Linked DNA regions of Homo sapiens: region 1 is linked to region 2. Evidence: promoter capture Hi-C in human tissues and cell types (Jung and others, 2019). All regions are on one chromosome and are shown on one strand. The core of a region is centred on a gene start or on the middle of the fragment in contact, and the rest is flanking DNA. Distances in the headings are between cores, read along the strand shown. Region 1 overlaps GABBR2 (gamma-aminobutyric acid type B receptor subunit 2). Region 2 holds the start of ANKS6 (ankyrin repeat and sterile alpha motif domain containing 6).

Region 1 (3,353 bases), core at 458-2,957, 330 kb after region 2:
TCACTAGCATGAGAACAGCAAGGGGAAAACCTGCCCCATGATCCAGTCACCTCCCAGCAGGCCGCTCCTCCTCCAACACTGGGGATTGCAATTTGACATGGGATTTGGGCAGGAACACAAATGCAAACCATACCAGGGAAGATTCGTCTTTCTGGTAGTTATTCTAGTTCACTCTTAAATAAACACCATCTTCTGTCTTTGCCACAGTTTTCTCATTCTGCCTTTACCACAAAACCTTGCATCAGGGCATGGGTGAGGCAAACGCAGAAGTGAAATGTGTTAATTTTTCTCTTCTTATTCAGTCATCTGTAAAGTTTTGATGTTCTCTGTCTTCCATTATAGATGTGGTATCATTTTGTATAGAATGTTTGTAGCTACAAAGCTAGCTAGTATAGTTTGCGGAGACTTGGGAAAGTTAATTTATACACAGCCTCCTTCATCTTCAGCTACCTGGAAGTCCTTTAACTGGTGTGTTTTAATGAACAGAAATTCTTTAATAGAACCCACTCAAAGGCTATGAAGATATTTTCCTATCTTGTGTTTTAGAAACTCTATTGTTTTACCTTTCACATTTAGATCTATAATTAACCTGAAATACATTTTGTATAGGATGTGAGGTAATGATCAAGATTCCTTTTCTTCTTTTCTTTTTTTACATGGATATCTAATTGACCCAACATCATTTATTGAAAAGTCCATCTTTTCCCACACTGTGCCGCCATATTACTTTTGTCATAAAGCAAATGACTTTATATATTTGGTTCTGTTTCTAAACTTTTTTTTTCACATCACGTATTGATTGTTTATTTAATAAGCATTTTATGCTTTAATTTTTCTTTTTTTTTTTTTTTTTTTTTTTTTTAGTATTTATTGATCATTCTTGGGTGTTTCTCAGAGAGGGGGATGTGGCAGAGTCATAGGGTAATAGTGGAGAGAAGGTCAGCAGATAAACACAAGAACAAAGGTCTCTGGTTTTCCTAGGCAGAGGTCCCTGCGGCCTTCGGCCCTGTTTGTGTCCCCGGGTACTTGAGATTAGGGAGTGGTGATGACTCTTAACGAGCATGCTGCCTTCAAGCATCTGTTTAACAAAGCACATCTTGCACCGCCCTTAATCCATTTAACCCTGAGTTGACACAGCACATGTTTCAGAGAGCACGGGGTTGGGGGTAAGGTTATAGATTAACAGCATCCCAAGGCAGAAGAGTTTTTCTTAGTACAGAACAAAATGGAGTCTCCTATGTCTACTTCTTTCTACACAGACACAGTAACAATCTGATCTCTCTTTCTTTTCCCCACATTTCCCCCTTTTCTTTTCGACAAAACTGCCATCGTCATCATGGCCCATTCTCGATGGTCGCTGTCTCTTCGGAGCTGTTGGGTACACTTCCCAGACGGGGCGGCTTGGCAGAGGCACTCCTCACTTCCCAGACAGGGCGGCCGGGCAGAGGCGCCCCCCACCTCCCAGACGGGGCGGCTGGGCAGAGGCACTCCTCACTTCCCAGATGGGGGCGGCCAGGCAGAGGCGCTCCTCAGTTCCCATTTGGGGCAGCCGGCCAGAGGCGCTCCTCACTTCCTCCCAGACAGGGCAGCAGGGCAGAGGCGCTCCTCACTTCCCAGAGGGGGCGGCCAGGCAGAGGCGCTCCTCACTTCCCATTCGGGGCAGCTGGGCTGAGGTACTCCTCACTTCCTCCCAGACGGGGCGGCCGGGAAGAGGCGCTCCTCACTTCCCAGACGGGGCGGCCAGGCAGAGGCGCTCCTCACATCCCAGATGATGGGTGGCCAGGTAGAGATGCTCCTCAATTCCTAGACGGGATGGCGGCCGGGCAGAGGCGCTCCTCACCTCCCAGACGGGGCGGCCGGGCAGAGGGGCTCCTCACATCCCAGACGATGGGCTGCCAGGCAGAGACGCTGCTCACTTCCTAGACGGGGTGGCGGGCGGGCAGAGGCTGTAATCTTAGCACTTTGGGAGGCCAAGGCAGGTGGCTGGGAGGTGGAGGTTGTAGCGAGCCAAGATCACGCCACTGCACTCCAGCTTGGGCAACATTGAGCGTTGAGTGAGCGAGACTCCATCTGCAATCCCAGCACCTTGGGAGGCCGAGGCGGGCAGATCACCCGAGGCCAGGAGCTGGACACCAGCCCGGTCAACACAGCGAAACCCCGTCTCCACCAAAAATACAAAAACCAGTCAGGAGTGGCGGCGAGTGCCTGGAATCCCAGGCACTAGGCAGGCCGAGGCAGGAGAATCACCGGAGCCCGAGGCAGGGAGGTTGCAGCGAGCCGAGATCACGGCAGTACTGCCCAGGCTCTGCAAGAGAGGGAGACTGTAGAAAGAGGGAGACGGAGAGCGAGAGCGAGACGGAGAGCGAGAGCGAGAGCGAGACGGAGAGCGAGAGGGCGAGGGAGAGGGAGAGCTCTGTTTCTAAACTTTATCTTTTTCTTTTCCATTGTTTTTCACCAAAACATCTTAATTTTTGTAGCTTTATAATAAGTCTTGATAACTACTCATATAGGTTCTCCATCTTAGTTCGTCAAAACTGTCTTGGCTATTCTTGTCTCTTTGCATTTCTATATACATTTTTAAAACAGATTGCCAGTTTATACACACATACATACATACTTTCTCTGGTTTTTATTGGGATTTTACTGAATCTGTAGATCAATTTAGGGAAAACTGACATCTTAATATTAAAGTCTTCCAATCCATGAATTGTGTATATCCCTGCATTTAGTTAGGTCTTCTTTAATTTCTCTCAGAAATGTTTTATAGTTTTCTGTGTAGAATTATTGCACATATTGGCTGGGCGCAGTGACTCACACTTGTAATCCCAGCACTTGGGGAGGCTGACGCAGGTGAATCACTTGAGGTCAGGAGTTCAAGACCAGCCTGGCCAACATAGTGAAACCCCATCTCTATTAAAAATACAAAAATTAGCCGGGCATGATGGCACATGCCTGTAGTCTCAGCTACTTGGGAGGCTGAGGCAGGAGGATCGCTTGAACCCAGGAGGCGGAGGTTATAGTGAGCCAAGATTACATCACTGCATTCCAGCCTGAGCAACAAAGTGAGACTCCATCTCAATTAAAAAGAAGAAAAAAGGATTATTGTACTTATTTTGTTTGATTTAATTCTGGGCATTTGATATATTTTGGTGAACATATGTGCACATTACTATTGGGTGCATACTTGGGGTGGAATTCTGAGTCAGAGTAGCCATATGTTCAGCTTTAGTAGACTCTGTGACAAACAGCTTTCTAAAGTGGTTATACCAATTTACACATCCGCAAGCAGTGATTGAGAGTTCCAGTTGGTTCACATGCTCAACAACTTTTGGTGTGTCAGCTTTTTAATTTTA
Region 2 (3,764 bases), core at 158-2,657:
AAGGGTATGGAATCAACCTAAGTGCCCATCAACAGTAGATTGGATAAAGAACATGTGGTACAGAGCCAGATGTGATGGCTCACACCTGTAATCCTGGCACTTTGGGAGGCCACAGCAGGTGAATCACTTGAGCTCAGGACTTTGAGACCAGCCGGACAACATGGTAAAACCCTTTCTCAACCAAAAATACAAAAAATTAGCCGGGTGTGGTGGCACTTGCCTGCAGTCCTAGCTACTCGGTAGGCTGAGGTGGGAGGATTGCTTGAGCCTGGGAGGCAGAGGTTGTGGTGAGTAGAGATTGCACCATTGCACTCCAGCCTGGATGACAGAGCAAGACCCTGTCAAAAGAGAGAGAGAGAGAGAGAGAGAGAGGGAGAAAGGGAGGGAGGGAGGGAGGAAGGAAGGGGGATAGGGAGGGAGGGAGGGAAGAGAGGGAAGGAATGAAAGAAATGTGGTGCATATACACGATAGAATATGATGGAATACTACGGAATACTATGCAGCCATAAGAATGAACGAAATCATGCCCTTTGCAGCAACATGGATAAAGCTGGAGGCCATTATCCTAAGCGACCTAAAAAGAACAGAAAACCAAATACTGCATGTTCTCACTTATAAGTGGGAGCTAAACATTGAGTACACATGGACACAAAGATGGGAACAACAAACGCTGGGGATCGCTAGGCCAGGGAGGGATGGAGGGGACTCTGGGCTGAAGAACCTCTTGGTGGGTATTATGCTTACTGCCTGGGTGACGGGATCGTTGGGACCACAAGCTTCAGCGTCGCGCAATTTACCCATGTAACAATTTACCCATGTAACAAACCTGTACCCTTTAATCTATAATAATAGTTGAAATAAAAGGTGGGGGAGAGAGAGAGAACAGGAGGCGCTTTTAGCCCCAGCAGCCTGGCCCAGATGAAGGAGCGACATTAAGGGCACCGCAGGACACTGTGAGGAAACAATCCGTTCGTTCCTTAATTCAGCCGCTTCCTTATTCTAGAAGGGCAGGTTCAGTGCCAGGGGCTGCGGTGGGGTCAGCGGAGCCCGCTAGTAAAGTCAAGGCCCACGCAGCTGCGGACTCAGACCCGGGCCCAGGGCCCTGACCACAGCGTGAAGAGGGGATGGCGTGGCCGCTCCCACCTCTGCCCTGACAGGAAGTTTCTGGAGCCCCGGGACAGGGCGGCGAGAGGGCGCCGAAGAGGCAAAAGGGAACACGCGGGTCTGCGGCGGGCGCTCCTCTGAGCGTCCCTGGACTCCCGAATACGGGCACTGGAGGTGCGCAGCCCCGGCCCTAGCGCGCTCCCGGCACACAGCAGGCGCGCGGCCCTAGCCCCGGCGCGCTCCCGGCACACAGTAGGCGCGCGGCGCGGGCGGGTGGCCGGAAGGGGGCGCCTGCGGGCGGTATCCGGGGGCGGAGCCGACGCGGCCGGCGGGGCGGACGGGAGCGGGCCGCGCGTGGCGGCGGCGATGGGCGAGGGCGGGCTGCCCCCGGCCTTCCAGCTGCTGCTGCGCGCGTGTGACCAGGGCGACACGGAGACGGCGCGGCGGCTGCTGGAGCCGGGGGCGGCGGAGCCAGCCGAGCGCGGCGCGGAGCCGGAGGCGGGCGCGGAGCCGGCGGGGGCCGAGGTGGCCGGGCCCGGGGCCGCAGCGGCGGGGGCAGTCGGGGCTCCGGTGCCCGTGGATTGCTCGGACGAGGCGGGCAACACCGCACTGCAGTTCGCCGCGGCCGGGGGCCACGAACCGCTGGTGCGCTTCCTGCTGCGCCGCGGTGCCTCGGTCAACAGCCGCAACCACTACGGCTGGAGCGCGCTCATGCAGGCGGCCAGGTGAGGCGGCGGGGCCCGGGGGCCCGGGACCAGAGTGGTGCCCGGCGCTGGCCCGAGACGCGGTCCCCGGCGGCCGGATGCCCCGGGAGGTGAAGAGTTAAGGACTCCTTAGAGTTGGAATGGTAAACTTTGAGTAGTCTTTTGTAAACTTTGAGCATAGACGTGGAAACACTTTTGAATTAACATAAAATCAGATTCTTAGAAATTTTGGCCTTTCAGAATAGAATCTGGAGACAGCGAATAGAATTGTAGAGACTTAGAACCTTAGAGATTTAATTCATTTCTTATTGCAGTAAGAGTTTCCTCAGAACCTGCCTTCCCTTCCTGGCTTGGCGTTGAGGGTGCTGCGAGACCCAGGCAGAGTCCCCACCCAGGGCATTGGTGGGCAGGCCAGGCAAAGGAACGAGCTTGACCGGAAAGGTTTGAGTAGCTGTGGGGCAGGTGACCCATTTTGGAGACGTGGGGGAAGGTTTCTGGTAGAAAAGATGTTTATATCCACGTGGAGACCTGCGGATACCTGAGAATTAGCCAGGACATTACAAGTGGGCTGTGGGAAGGCATGATGGGAGGCCCATGCAAAGGCTTGGGTGCACGAGCTGGTAGGACTGGTAGAATGAGGTATGCGTAGAATGTATGAGTAGAATGATGTACTAGTCCTCCCTGGAGAGAAGGCAGATGCCAGGGAGTTGGGGGAGTGTGGGAGCTGAGAAACGCTAGCTATCCTAGGGTGCTAGGGAGTCATGGAAGGTGCTAGGGAGTCATGGAAGGTTCTAGGCAGAATGAGTGACAGGATGAGAGTTACGTTTTGGAAAAATTACTTTCCTTGAAGTGTGAGAATAGATTAGATACTCTAGGGTAAGCTAGAGTCAAAAAGGCTGGTTAGGTAGAGTTTGCTGCAGTCTGAGTGAGAGGTGATGGTGGCCTAGACCAGAATGGAGACAGCGGAGGGAGGGCACCCAGATGAATTTGTGATATATTCAGGGAGTAGATCAGCAGGAGTTGACGACTGGCCCTTGGGGAGGGGTTAAGAGAGACAGCAAGGATGGCATCTAGAGATCTGGCTTCTGTGAAGCCTGCCATGATATCTCCCTGTTCTCTGGTCCCTCCGCAGCAGAAAGGCCTCTGTGGTAGCATCCATCACACCATGTTAATGCTGACTGGCTTCCTCAGTACCCAAACCTGGCCACACATCAGAATCACCAGGATGCTTGTCTAAGTGCAGATTCCTGAGTTCCTTTTCTGGAGATTGTGATTTAGAAGGCCCAGGGCAGTGAGGGGAGTAAGAGACAGGGACTCTGTGTGAGAAGAGGCTCCCCAGTGATTCTCTTGTATGGTAGGTTTGGGAGCCACTGATGTGTTATGTGTGTCTCATCTCTGCAATCCACCAAGTGCGTGCACAGGGGCCCTGGTGAGCCCCCTGAGGAATTTACTGAGTGAGGTTTGTGACTACAGCACTGACATGCCTCAGAGTGTCTCAGAGACCCCAGATCATCAGTTTTAACCAAGTTCTGCAGGATAGTCTTGAGCCTGGGTATTTTAAAATGTGCTGTTCCTCAGTTGGTGTGACACCGACTCTATATTCAGGTAGCATCTCTGCCTGTGTTGAGTTGTGCTCCAGCTTTCTGCTGCGTAATTCATAAGAAAAGGTCAAGTTGAGGAGTAGTATATATGGAAGACTTCCAGAAGGATGTACAGTGTGTCTGTCCCTCACATCGGGGTAGGCAAATGAATGGCCTGTGTGCTGACACCTTCCAGCCTTGTGCTCTTCTTCCTTGGATCTGGATACGCCCCCAGAATCCTGCTCAAAACCACACCCCTGGCAGCCACCACGCTGGGTCTGAGCAAGCATCTATTTATCGTCCCAGCTCTCTGTGTGGATCAGGCCAGACTATTAGACACCCTGTGCCTTTGGTCTTTTGTGGGTGTTTTAGTATT

The links. Contacts are between HindIII fragments. The study calls those that stand out against the background at their distance.
Region 1: a fragment that was not itself captured here is called in contact with the fragment with the promoter of ANKS6 in region 2 in 2 of the 25 tissues and cell types used here (IMR-90 fibroblasts and aorta).

What each region holds. Positions count from the first base shown.
Region 1 is chr9:98,462,631-98,465,983 of GRCh38, reverse strand. The region is part of intron 6 of GABBR2 (gamma-aminobutyric acid type B receptor subunit 2); the gene reads left to right. Among named protein-coding and RNA genes, the nearest start is that of TBC1D2, 210 kb to the right of the region's middle. The HindIII fragment of the contact is 5,351 bases long and covers 1-3,353 here.
Region 2 is chr9:98,794,198-98,797,961 of GRCh38, reverse strand. ANKS6 (ankyrin repeat and sterile alpha motif domain containing 6) reads left to right here and starts at 1,407. Exons shown (of 15, transcript NM_173551.5): 1 at 1,407-1,829. The coding sequence starts at 1,471. RefSeq lists enhancers at 1,143-1,643, 1,644-2,144 and a silencer at 1,265-1,884. The HindIII fragment of the contact is 18,100 bases long and covers 1-3,764 here.